Linked DNA regions of Homo sapiens: regions 2 and 3 are each linked to region 1. Evidence: promoter capture Hi-C in human tissues and cell types (Jung and others, 2019). All regions are on one chromosome and are shown on one strand. The core of a region is centred on a gene start or on the middle of the fragment in contact, and the rest is flanking DNA. Distances in the headings are between cores, read along the strand shown. Region 1 holds the start of SENP5 (SUMO specific peptidase 5). Region 2 holds the start of LINC02012 (long intergenic non-protein coding RNA 2012). Region 3 holds the start of TFRC (transferrin receptor).

Region 1 (4,185 bases), core at 614-3,113:
TTTTTTTTTTTTTTTTTTTTTTTGAGACGGAGTTTTGCTCTTGTTGCCCAGGCTGGAGTGTAATGGCACTATCTCAGCTCACCACAACCTCGCCTCCCGGGTTCAAGCTAGTCTCCTGCCTCAGCCTTCCGAGTAGCTGGGATTACAGGCATGCGCCACCACGCCTGGCTAATTTTGTATTTTTAGTAGAGATGGGGTTTCACCATGTTGGTTAGGCTGATCTCGAACTCCCGACCTCAGGTGATCTGCCCGCCTCGGCCTCCCAAAGTGCTGGGATTACAGGCGTCAACCACCGCGCCCGGCTGATCCCAGCACTTTTGAGAGGCGGAAGCAGGTAGATCACTTGAGGTCAGGAGGTCGAGACCAGCCTGGCCAACATGGTGAAACCCCATGTCTACTAAAAATACAAAAATTAGCCGGGCGCGATGGCGGGCACCTGTAATCCCAGCTACTCTGGAGGCTGAGGCAGGAGAATCGCTTGAACCTGGGAGGAGGAGGTTGCAGTGAGCTGAAAAGATCGCGCCACTGCACTCCAGGCTGGGTGTCAGAGTGAGACCCTGTCCCCCCTCCAAAAAAAAATTGTGAGCCCAGGTGTAAATGAAGCCCCCCTCCCCAGCACCCTCCTCTACATACCAAGCTTTTCTCCTAGAAAAGATGCACTGGGAAAAAGCTATCTTGAGTAAAGATCAAAACTGATATAAGCCATCCCTCATATACCAATAATATGCCATCAATAAGCGTGAGACATGTGGATGGCTAGGAGAGAGTCTGGTTTCTTCCTGATGCTGCCCACCCAAAACAGAGACTGCAGTTAGGCTCTGACCACACGAGCGCCTGGCATCTCTAGGCAACCTTTTCCATACCAAGCTTAGTTATTCCGGGCAAAATGCAAAAAAAAAACATAAGTAGGAACCTATCATGAAGTGTCCTGGATATTCTTAAATTAAATTTAACCAGATTCTCAAAACATTTCATAACTAACGTCTGCTTTCTTCATTTAATTCTCCAAACATTATAATTTACATTGGTAGAAGAAAGTCCCACTTTACCTGCGGTGAAAAAGGTCGAAATGTCTATCTAGCATGAGATGAAAAACACTACCAGAGAGCAGGGTAGGATTTCACCTCGGCTATTCTCGCTCTAAGTCCAAAACTCCCACATCCTCTCCGCATCCCTCCACCCCGACAGAGTGGCCACAGGGCGTAGAGCGGAGGCTGATACCGCTCAGAGCAGACCGAAGGGAAAAGACGTCTCCCACCGCGCTCATGCCCAACCGGGCTCTCTGGAAAAGGGTCCCGGGGAGCGCGAGGAAAGAAACGAAGGCCGGAAGGAGGCAGAGCGGTCTAAGCAAATAAAAACCCCGGACTTCCACGGCGGCCGGAGCTGGAGGCCTGTGACAGCGGCTCCTCCTCTCAGAGCTTTCCCGGCTTCAGGAGGAGCTGGGGGGCGCCAGCTTCCCGGTGCCTGCGACGCACAGCCCGGCTGGAGCGAGAGCGCAGGGCAGCGGCCCCTCGGGACGAGCTCGCTCGCCTCCCCCGGAAAGGGAGGCTGTGGCCGAGACGGACGGCGGCCTCCAGCTCGGGCGGGGGAGGGCGGCTCGAGGCCTCCGGACCGGGCGCTGAGGTGGCGCACCGGCGCGGGAATGGCCCCAGCCAGCCCCGCCAGGCGATCGCTGAGTCCGTCACTCGTCTGCCCGCGTCCCCGCTTACCTGCTACCCTCGTTCCTGGCAGCTGCCCCGCCGCCGGCCCCGTCGCGGCAGCAGCCTGGACCGCGGACCCCGCCTTCGTCAGCTCCAAGGGAAGCCCCGCCAGCGACGAGGCGTCCGGCCTGTTCGCCGCGGCCACAGCCGCCGAGCTTCCTCTGAAGCGGCTGCCGCGACGCCGGCGCTGGCCTATCGCGTCACCTCCTCCGCGCCCTTCCGCCTGCGAGGCTGGGCCTGGCACCGCCCGCTTCCGGCGCTCCCGCCCCGCCTCCCGACCCGGGGCCGCCCCGCCCCCGCCCGTCACCGCGTCCTTAGCCCCGGCCTCCCTCAGAACGCGCTGGGATGGGAACCGCGTTCAGGAGCTGCTAAGCGCGTTTGAGACTTCAGCCCCTTCTCCAGCTTTTAACCTAAAAGGGCTAAATCAGACCGCAGCTAGTGTACACCCCTACCCTCCGCTGATCCCGTCACCCCTGCGCCGAAAGCAAAAGACCCATTCCAGCTCTGGACGTTGTGAGGCCTGGCCCAGGCGTCCGCTCTCTGGTTTTCCTATTGATCTTACCCCTGGTATTGTGATTGGCCTCTTTATCTATGTCTTACCCGCCCCAACTGTGAATGCTTTCCAAAATTATAAGCCGATGTCCTGACAGGCAAAAACATAATAATAGCAGATTTATGGCGGAAGATGAGTTCAGTTTTGAACATACTCGATCTGGAAGAATAAAGTGGAGGTGACTGCAATGGAAAACCAACAGTGCGTTGCTGAGAGCCTGTGTAGGCAGTAAGGATATGCATTGATGGTGGAGAAGATAAAAACAATACCGAAGCCAACTGCAGGATGGTTTGCTTTTAATTATCATCATGTGTCAGAAAATTCTAAACAATGTTAATGAAAAAGTACTCCTTTCCAAACAAAAGCTTTGTTTAGTCTTAGTTCTAAGCAATGGCTGCAATTACTGTTGATTTTTTTTTCTTTTTTCTTTTCTTTTTTTTTTTTTTCCAAACAGGGTCTTGCTGTCTCGCCCAAGCCGGAGTGCCGTGGCACACCCTAGGCTCGCTGTAACCTCTGCCTCCTGGGCTCAAGCGATCCTCCCACCTCATCTTCCAGGGTACCTGCGACCACAGGCTCCTGCACCACGCCCGGCTAATTTTTTATTACTATTACTATCATTATTTTTGTAGCGATGACATCTCCCTATGTTGCCCAGGCTGGTCTTGAACCCCTGAGCTCAAGTGATCCTCCCACCTGGGCCTCCCACAGTGCTCGAATTACAGGCGTGAACCACCACACCAGGCCCTCTCACTTCTTTTTAACAGTTTCTCTTTGTCAGTGATTTTTTTTTTTTTTTTAGAGGAGTGTCGCTCTGTCGCCCAGGCTGCAGTGCAGTGGCGCCATCTCGGCTCACTGCAAGCTCTGCCTCCCGGGTTCACGCCATTCTCCTGCCTCAGCCTCCTGAGTAGCTGGGACTACAGGCGTCCACCACCACGCTTGGCTAATTTTTTTTGTATTTCTTTAGTAGAGACCGGGTTTCACCAAGTTAGCCAGGATAATCTCGATCTCCTGACCTCGTGATCTGCCCGCCTCAGCCCCCCAAAGTGCTGGGATTACAGGCGTGAGCCACCGCACCCAGCCTGTTAGTGATTTTTAGCCATTTATTTTGTGCCCTATCTTTGTTTTCTTTGTATTTATCTGTCTTGGATATCATTGAGTTTCTCTGATTTGTGGGTAGATGTCTTGCATCAGTTTTGAGAAATTCTCAATCATTATCTCTTCAGATATGGTTTTTGCTGCATTCTCTATGCCTGTTCTCCGAGACACCAATTACATATGTAAGATTATTATTATTATTATTGAGACAGAGTTTCACTCTTTTTGCTCAAGCTGGAGTGCAGTGGCGCAATCTCGTCTCACTGCAACCTCTGCCTCTGCCTCCCGGGTTCAAGCGATAATCCTGCCTCAGCAGTATTATCTACTGAGGTAGATAATACTATTATAATAGTATTATTATCGAGTAGCCAGAATTACAAGCGCCCACCACCACGCCCGGCTAATTTTTGTATTTTTAGTAGAGATAGGGTTTCACCATGTTGGTCAGGCCGGTCTTCAACTCCTGACCTCCGGTGATCCACCTGCCTCAGCCTCCCAAAGTGCTGGGATTACAGGCATGAGCCACGGCACCCAGCCCATATGTAAGATTATTTGATCTTGTTCACCGTGTCTTTTACACTTTGTGATGTCAATTTTTTTTTCAATTATTCAGTTTGAAGGTTTTCTGTTTTTCAGGTTATTGAGTCTATCTTCTATAATCTCCAATCTGCTGTTAAATCTATACATTGAGTTCTTAATTTTAAATATTAGATTTTCAGGTTTTGTTTTTTTTTGTTGTTGTTGTTTGTTTTTTTTTTTTGAGGCCAAGCTTCGCCCTTGTTGCCCAGGCTGGAGTACAATGGCGCAATCTCGGCTCACTGCAACCTCTGCCTCCCA
Region 2 (4,550 bases), core at 50-2,549, 640 kb before region 1:
AACCCTTTTATCGCTTATAAATAGTGCCAGTTATGTGTTCCTGCCACGGCTGTGGAAATACTTCACATTTGCATTCCAGGACTGTTTTGGATCCATTTGCCCGAGAATCTTCTGACTAACTCTGTGTCCTCATCTGGGCAGCACACACCAAGTGCCCACTGGTACCTCTGCATGTCCATGGTGCTGTGTGACTGGCCAGCCAGCAGCCAGTGACTCAGAGCTGGCTGTATGGAGGGGGTGGGAATGTTTCTGGAGATTTTTGTTTTTCCAGACACAGTCTTGCTCAGTCCCCTAGGCTGGAGTGCAATGGCACCATCTCCGCTCACTGCAACCTCCGCCTCCCTGGTTCAAGCGGTTCTCCTGCCTCAGCCTTCCAAGTAGCTGGGGTTATAGGCACCCACCACCATGCCGGGCTAATTTTTGTATTTTTAGTAGAGATGGGGTTTCACCATGTTGGCTAGGCTGGTCCCGAACTCCCGACTTCAAGTGATCCGCCTGCCTTGGCCTCCCAAAGTGCTGGGATTACAGGCATGAGATTTTTACTTGAGATTTTTCCATCCTCTTTTAGGACTCAGGATAGACTTGTGTGGAGGTGCTCTCTGGCTAAGGGGATAAGTTGTTACTGGTTTGGGTCTGCTTGGTTTTGCCTTGGGTGGGGCCGGTGTCGATGGGGCAGGCTTGGCACGAGCAGTGGTGCCATGGCAGGGCACTGTGGCATCTCCCCTAGCAGTGGATTTGGGGTCCCTGCTTGCCTCACGTGGTGCTTACACACATGTACACACACACACACACACACACACACACACACACCTTACACACATGTACACACACACACACACACACACACACACACACACACACACACACACACACACACACACACACACACACACACCCCTGTTCTGCAGGGCTTCAGCGTGGCCTTCATTCCCGCCTCGCCTCGGCCTCTTTTCAATTAAGAAGTGATGCCACTTGAGGCAGGGTCTGCATGATCACTTCTTGGGTTTCAGTTTGAAAGCTGCCATCCCTGCGACTGCCCAGGGCCTGTATGTTGGGACCGAAGCCAAACACCACTGTCCTCCAGGGGGCTTTCGGCCCGGGGCAGGGTCCCCAGTGCCCGCCTTCGAATCAGACTCCGCGTTTCCGCCTCTCCCTGGGCGGACCTGCCGCTAGAGGGCGCTCCTCCTCCGCAGCCGGCGCCGGCCTCCAGCGCCCCAGACTCCCGCGCTGCCGCCCGAGCCTGAGGTTTCTCACGGCGTTCGGGATTCGCGCTTCGGAAACCGGGAACAAAGAAGCAAGCAGCACCCTTCAGAAACAGTGTTCTCGCTCTCCTAGCAGCTGGCCCGGGCCCGGAGGCTGGTGCCAGGAGAAGGCAGAAGAGCCCGGGCAGCCGGAGTGGGCTACGGGGTTCAGGCAGTGCCAAGGAAGAAGGGCCTCACAATGGGCAATTCAGCTGCCTCCCGGGCCGTTGTCCCCGCTGTCTTCAAACAGGGGTCCCCTGTCCCAGCTGCCCCAGGAGGAGGGGGGGAGGCAGGCAGGGCCGAAACCCTCCAGAGCCCAGAGGGGGACGCTTGGTGGCCGCTGCAGTTACATAACCATAGGATGCTTTTGTACCGTGGACCTTGTTCTAGCAGGATCCTTTCGGAATTGCACTTTTACATGTTGGGCGAATTTGTGTCCGTGCTGAAGTTTATTAAAGGAAAATAGATGGAGCCTTGGAGTTGCACGTGTGCGTCCCTGCCTGGGAACTAGAGGAAGGAGGGCCACATACTCTGGGTCCCCATCAGCAGACCCGAACGTCAGAGAAGCTGCATGTGCGTCTACTGGGATCTTCTGAGTAAGCTAGAACTGCTGGGCCGGCCTGTGCAGGTTGTTCTGGCTTTTAATCGTTTCCAGTGATTGAAAAGCCCAGGCTACCATCCCTCCAAATAACTCCAGTGCTAACTCAAACCTCATATTCACCATTCACTTTCCGGCAGCTTAGAACCTACCGGGGCGCAGGACGTAGTTTTCGTCTTTACCAGAGTGCGTGGCCGGGCGCGGTGGCTCACACCTGTCATCCCAGCATTTTGGGAGGCCCAGGCGGTCGGATCGCCTGAGGTCAGGAGTTCAAGACCAGCCTGGCCAACGTGGTGAAACCCTGTCTCTACTAAAAGCACAAAAATTAGCCAGGCGTGGTGGTGGGCGCCTGTAACCCCAGCTACTCGGGAGGGTGAGGCAGGGAGAATCGACTGAACCCAGAGGCAGAGGTTGTAGTGAGCCGAGATCATGCCACTGCACTCCAGCCTGGGCAACAGAGTGAGGCTCTGTCTCAAAAAACAAAACAACAACAACAAAACAAAAAAAGAGTGAGAGGACAAAACAGGTGTATATTCCCATTTTATAGATGACATAACTGAGGCCCAAAGAAGGAAAGTGACTCACTCAGTGTCACAGTAAATCCACGGCAGGACCAGGGCCAGAACAAAAGTCTCCTGAGTGGCACTCTTCACTATCACATAACACTGTGGCTCGCAACAGCCCTGGAAGCAAAGCCAGTTGGGGTCACCAGGCACCTAGACCCTCACTGCTTGTCTGCTGGCAGAGAGCCGCTCCTTCTTGTCAGAGTAAGTAGGAAGGAGGCCTTTGCCTGTGCGGACCTATGGTCTGGTGACTCCAGCCAGCACAAACCCATCCCCTGATGGTTGGAGGCTGGGCAAGGGCTTCTTGCAAGATGCGCCTGACAGTGCCTTGTTACAGAGCACCTGCTGTGCTTAGCATTCCACCCGGGGCCAAGAGGCTGTGTGAGCAGGTGACAGCCAGCCTGGCCCCGCCTGTCACAAGCTGCTAGGTCTGCACCCTTGCCACCCATGGCAGGGGGTCTGACAAAGACTCCCCATTTGTGAGGTCTGTTCACTGCCTGTATTTCGAACAGGGCCTGGCTCTGCAAACCTGTGCAAACTGTGTTGATATAGGAGCCGACATGAGCAAGCAGAGGCTCCCCTGGCTCAGGCAGCCCCAGGTTGGGTTGGCCAGACAGCAACCAGGCACAGGGGCCAAGTGCAGGTCCTGCTACCCAGCCACCACAGCTTCCTCTCACCTGATTCTCACAGCAACCCAGGCAGGATAGGCAGGGTGGGGTTATCTTATTTTGCAGAAACAGGCTTTCCCAAGTCTGTCACCAAGTGAGGGGTAGAGCTGGGTGTCCAGCCAGATCTAACCTCCAGCCCAGAGCTGGTGATGCGGAAAATCAGGGCAGATGGCAGCAGGATCTAAAATAGGGAGGGAAGAAGTCCTCAGTTACGTAACAGCGAGGAGACTCTCAGCCTACGCACAGTAGCAACCATGGGGTCCTGCCACTCGAGCCAGACCCTCCTTCCCTTCCCGTTTTGGGCTCTAAGTGCTGCCCCCTGTGAGAGAATGTGCTGGAGGAGCCCCCAGTATCCTTCCAGCGGGAAGTCGGCTCTGTCAAGGCCATTCCCGAGAGCAGGCTCTAGGAATTCAAAGACCAAGCAGGCAGAGCTGGATTCTGGAGCTGCCCTCAAAGGGCTTGAGGGTTATATGAGCGCCGTGCTTGAGAAGTTAGTGATGATTTCTGCTCAAAGAGACAGAGCAAGAGGGCTGAGGGGCTCTGGTGCTCTGGGGGAGATGAAACAACCCCACAGTATATGAGGCCTCTCTGGTGTGTGCGGGCACTAAGGAAGGGTGACTTGCGAGTGGCGCATTCGGAGGCACGGGGTGGGCAGCTGTTGAGCAAGGGACCAGGGCTGGGACAGGCTGCCAGGACCCCCACAACCCCAGGGGAGGAAAGGGGACTCAGCCATCATCATGCCTGACTCCCAGGCTCCCGGATGAGGAGCCTGCTAGCCAGGGCTTGAAGCCCTCCAGTGACAGGGGGTGCATTACTTCCTAAGAAGCCATTTCCTTGGTTCAGAAACGTTTATCCAAAGACTGAGCCGAAATCTACCACCTCACTTAATGTTTTTGGCACCTGGTTATGACCCAGACCTGCACAGAATAATTTAACTCTTCTGAAATAGACTTCCAGATATTTGGAAGTGGCCAAGTCAGGTTTAAGAGCTCAGGTCTCCCATTTGACAAGATTTCCATCTCCTCGCTGTCTGAACAGGTTTCAGCTGTGGTTATCCAATCCCTCATTCTTGATGACACACACCAGGCTGAATGGTCTTTAGAGTTCCCCTCAAGCCGCCAAGCGCTCTGAGACAGGTTTACTAGCTTTGGTGAGATGCTGACACTCCTCACATGCACGTGCCCCTCCCAACTACTCAAGTGAGTTCGTGGCAAATCTCTCATCTGATCTGCATAAACGGATTATATCTTAGGCGGTGCCATTGTCTGCATTTTACAAATAAGGAAACTGAGCCTCAGGGAGGTGAAGTCATTTGCCCAAAATCACAGAGCCAGGAAACGAGAGAGCCAAGATCCAGACCCCGCAAGATCCAGACCCCACAAGATCCAGACCCCGCAAGATCCAGACCCCTCAAGATATAGACCCTGCAAGATCCAGACCTCACAAGATCCAGACCCCACAAGATCCAGACCTCGGCTAT
Region 3 (4,465 bases), core at 450-2,949, 790 kb after region 1:
GAGACAAGCCTGGCCAACATGATAAAATCCCGTCACTCCTCAAAATACAAAAATTAGCCTGGCATGGTGGCACACACCTGTAGTCCCAGCTACTTGGGAGGCTGAGGCAGGAGAATCGCTTGAATCCGGAGGCAGAGGTTGCAGTGAGCCCGAGATCATGCCACTGTACTCCAGCCAGGGTGACAGAGCAAGACACTGTCTTAAAAGTAAAAATAATAAAAATAAATAAAATTAATAATTAAAGAAATAAAGAAGGAACACCACAGGGGAGCAGGCCTGGTGTCTGAATGTTAAGGTAGGCCCTCTGTGGATGTGCATCCTTAACCTTTTCCTGATTAGATCATTAAAGGTGCAGCAATGCTCCTGCTCATATGACTTTTTTTTTTTTTTGAGATGGAATCTTGCTCTGTCGCCCAGGTTGGAGTGCAATGGCGCGATCTTGGCTCACTGCAACCTCCGCCTCTTGGGTTCAAGCGATTCTTCTGCCTCAGCCTCCTGAGTAGCTGGGATTACAGGCGCGTGCCACTATGCCTGGCTAATTTTTTTTGAAATTTTTTTAGTAGAGATGGGGTTTCACCATATTGGTCAGGCTGGTCTCGAACTCCAGACCTCGTGATCCGCTCACCTCGGCCTCCCAAAGTGTTAGGATTGCAGGCGTGAGCCACCGCGCCTGGCAACTCATATGACTTTTAAACACTTCTCTTTGGGGAGAGAGATTTTAGAGAATGGGAGTAAAGAGAAAGGCGGTGAGAATCCCAAGTACTTTCTCTATCTTAGAGCAGAAGAAATAAAGGGAAGAGTAAAAGCCCAAGGCCCAGAAACGGATTTGCTTCTTAAAGGGCTGTTCTGTGTCCCTACGGGCCTGAAGGTCAGTTTATGTGCAATGCTTTTTAAGGTATGGGTTGCTTTCTTGCATTGTAGCTACTACCTCCCTGGCCTGCTGGTTACTGACCAGAGGGAGGGAGAGGGTGTGATTGTTTGGAAAGAGTTTAAACAGTGACAAGAATTGAATTTTATTTATTTGTTATTCATTGCACAATCCAATAACAGCGATGGCAATGAAAACGAAAGTTAATCTACAATCCTATCACCCTATTAAGTCACTTGTTTCTATTTTCCCTTTTATTCCCTCATGCATTAAACATTACGCAAAGCACTCCGCTAGTCTTGGTTAAAGTGCAGCTTGTATACATTCTGAATAAAAATTTGCATTTTGCTTTTCTTTTCCTTTTTGTATTTCTGAGGCTGCAAAATACATCTTCACAAGAGTGGCTTTAATAGTTACCTAACATTCCATCCTGCACGTACATTTCAAGGCACTGCCGCAGTGCAATATCCAACATTTAAGCGTCAACGCCAACAGATTGGACCTAGCACTGCAGGGACTGGAGGTTGGTCAAGGTCAGGCGGAGGCTGCCAGGCTACCAGGGTGGAGGAAGGCGCCGAGGCAGAGGCCAGTGCGCCCATCGCGCGGCTCCTCGGGGCACCTGCTGCCTTGGCGCCTTTTCCCTTGGCCTTCGCCTCGCCCGCAGCGCCCTCCGCATAGGGCCCCGCCCGCTGCGCGCGCATCCCCGCCCCCCGGGCGATCTGTCAGAGCACCTCGCGAGCGTACGTGCCTCAGGAAGTGACGCACAGCCCCCCTGGGGGCCGGGGGCGGGGCCAGGCTATAAACCGCCGGTTAGGGGCCGCCATCCCCTCAGAGCGTCGGGATATCGGGTGGCGGCTCGGGACGGAGGACGCGCTAGTGTGAGTGCGGGCTTCTAGAACTACACCGACCCTCGTGTCCTCCCTTCATCCTGCGGGGCTGGCTGGAGCGGCCGCTCCGGTGCTGTCCAGCAGCCATAGGGAGCCGCACGGGGAGCGGGAAAGCGGTCGCGGCCCCAGGCGGGGCGGCCGGGATGGAGCGGGGCCGCGAGCCTGTGGGGAAGGGGCTGTGGCGGCGCCTCGAGCGGCTGCAGGTACACGGGGTCGGCGGCTGTGCGCAGAGGCGTCCCTGCGCCTCTCGTCCCTTCGCCTCTCGTCCCTTCCCTTCTCTCTGCCTTCTTGCCCGCCTCCTCGGTCACAGAGCGACGAATGACGAGACCAGGTGTACCCCCACTGTCGCTCTCAGCCCCGGGGACTTCGGGTCCTCGCCCTTGAAGGCCGCAGGCCCTAGTGCGCCGGCTCCGGGCTGCGGGTCCGGGAGCGCGGGCGCAGCCAAGGTGCAGCTGCGCGGCGTGCGGCGCCGGGGGAACACGTGGCTGCTCCAGGAAGTCGCCCCAGGGAACGGCTGGGATTCGTGGGTGACCTTGGGCTCCTAAACCTTCGGTTCCCCGGGCTCCGGGCGGGCCCCGTTCTCACTGCGGAAAGGGACAAAGCTGTCCCCGATTCGGTTACTAGCGTGTTACAGGCATTAATTAGATACGGGTTTCTGTAAACTTACCCTTCGGCTCTGGTACAACCTGATCTTGCCATGCTCTGCCTGTTCGCCTTGTGTGTGGATTCTGTTTTCTCAAGGCAGAATCCGACTGAACGCCGCAGGTGTTCACATTAAGAATATTGCTAGCAGTTCTCACTACAAGACGGGAGCCATAGGAGTGACTTATTTGTGAAAGATACTTGGAGATTAGCGGTGTGGTCAGAGGGCTGTGCTGGATTGATGGGCGCCGGAGAGGCCGATTGTGTCACATTCTGCTGGACAGTTCTTTTAAGGTTGGGAGGGTGGGTAAGAAAATACATTCTGATTCGGCTCTTTTCGGATAACGCTTTCCCTCTGCTTACTGCTTGTAGAGACCTCACTTACCCGGGGGACTGGATTCTGCAGCTTTTTCCATTTTCTTCCCCGTTGATAAGAGGATTAAAGTAGGAAATTGTATTTGGCTACCCCATGCTTATATGCTAAGCTTACTGTGAAAATTAAGGTTAGGCTGTCTAGAGTACTTGTGGACCCTGCTGGTTCCCCCCGCCCCCCGGCCCTGAATTTTGGGTTACAATATGCTTCTCAAGAAAACTCAGAGTTAAGATAATTTTTGTCATCGATTTTGCAAGGTTATATATAGCATAGCATCCTTCAATTTCCTTTGGATGTTCTTATCAAGTAATGGTGGCTGTAAACCTAGCCTGTGTTGAAGATTGTTAGATAGACAGCAGTTTGGCTAACTCCGCCCTAAGGCGAGGCAGTTACTTGCCTCTGATAATGTATTTAAATGTCATGGAGCAAGATTCCCAGCTAAACCTGAATCGATCACAATGCTAGTTAAAAATGACCCTCGGCTGGGCGCATTGGCTCCCGCCTGTAATCCCAGCACTTTGGGAGGCCAAGGCAGGCGGATCACCTAAGGTCAGGAGTTCGAGTCCAGTCTGACTAACATGGTGAAATCCTGTCTCTACTAAAAACACAAAAATTAGCCGGGCATGGTGGCTCACGTCTGTAATTCCAGCACTTTGGGAGGCCGAGGCAGGTGGATCACTTGTGGTGAGGAGTTCGAGACTAGCCTGGCCAACATGGTGAAACCCCGTCTCTACGAAAAATACAAAAATTAGCTGGGCATGGTGGTGCACACCTGTAATCCCAGCCACTCAGGAGGCTGAGGCTCGAGAGTCGCTTTAACCTGGGAGGCAGAGGTTGTAGTGAGCTGAGATCGTGCTACTGCACTCCAGCCTGCGCGACAGCGAGATGCCATCTCAAAAACAACAACAAAAAAACTCCCTACTAAACCAGAAGAGTGATGGGGACGGGAAAAGATTCCTGGTCCAATGTTTTCATTATATTTTTCATATCATTTGGAATCTCATGCATCAGGCATGCCCCAGTACTGTTAAAGACAATATTTTTACTCATTATCAGGTAGTTCAATACCAGTTATTACAGGATAGGGAAGTCAGTCAGAGAAGGCTTCATAGAGATGAAGCCTTGAGCTGAGCCTGGAAGAAATGAGGAGGACCTCAAGGAACAGAGAAGAATGTTGGTGGGTAAAAACAGGGGCTGGATTCTGTCTGATTTTGGAGAAAATAGAGGGTAGTGAAGTTGTTAGGCAGTGAATGTGTTCCATTTCATGGTTCAAAACGTGGGGCTACGTTTTGCCTACCTGAGCTTCATTATTAATGTGAGAAATTGAATTGTTGTTTTCAGTCACCATTGAGAACACCAAAGATAACACAAGTAGCTTAGATTATTATTTATTTATTTATTTTTGACAGAGTTTCACGCTTGTTGCCCAGGCTGTAGTGCAATGGTGTGATCTCGGCTCCCTGCAACCTCCACCTCCCCCAGGTTCAAGTGATTCTCCTGCCTCAGCCTCCCCAGTAGCTGGGATTACAGGCATGCGCCACCATGCCCGGCTAATTTTGTATTTTTTTGGTAGAGATGGGATTTCTCCATGTTTGGTCAGGCTAGTCTCAAACTCTCAACCTCAGGTGATCTGCTCGCCTCGGCCTCCCAAAGTGTTGCTGGGATTACAGGCGTGAGCCACCATGCCCGGCCATC

The links. Contacts are between HindIII fragments. The study calls those that stand out against the background at their distance.
Region 2: a fragment that was not itself captured here is called in contact with the fragment with the promoter of SENP5 in region 1 in 1 of the 25 tissues and cell types used here (lymphoblastoid cells).
Region 3: a contact is called between the fragment with the promoter of TFRC here and the fragment with the promoter of SENP5 in region 1, in 1 of the 25 tissues and cell types used here (hippocampus).

Annotation. Positions count from the first base shown.
Region 1 is chr3:196,865,598-196,869,782 of GRCh38, reverse strand. SENP5 (SUMO specific peptidase 5) reads right to left here and starts at 1,863. Exons shown (of 10, transcript NM_152699.5): 1 at 1,710-1,863. RefSeq lists an enhancer at 354-855 and a silencer at 1,507-2,086. The HindIII fragment of the contact is 4,194 bases long and covers 1-3,368 here.
Region 2 is chr3:197,506,945-197,511,494 of GRCh38, reverse strand. BDH1 (3-hydroxybutyrate dehydrogenase 1) reads left to right here. Exons shown (of 8, transcript NM_203314.3): 8 at 1-1,712. LINC02012 (long intergenic non-protein coding RNA 2012) reads left to right here and starts at 1,834. Exons shown (of 1, transcript NR_145451.1): 1 at 1,834-4,550. RefSeq lists a silencer at 3,003-3,297. The HindIII fragment of the contact is 6,420 bases long and covers 1-4,509 here.
Region 3 is chr3:196,079,324-196,083,788 of GRCh38, reverse strand. It overlaps TFRC (transferrin receptor), which reads left to right and starts at 1,699. Exons shown (of 19, transcript NM_001128148.3): 1 at 1,699-1,746. RefSeq lists silencers at 1,377-1,716, 1,767-2,066 and an enhancer at 2,948-3,447. The HindIII fragment of the contact is 11,516 bases long and covers 1-3,766 here.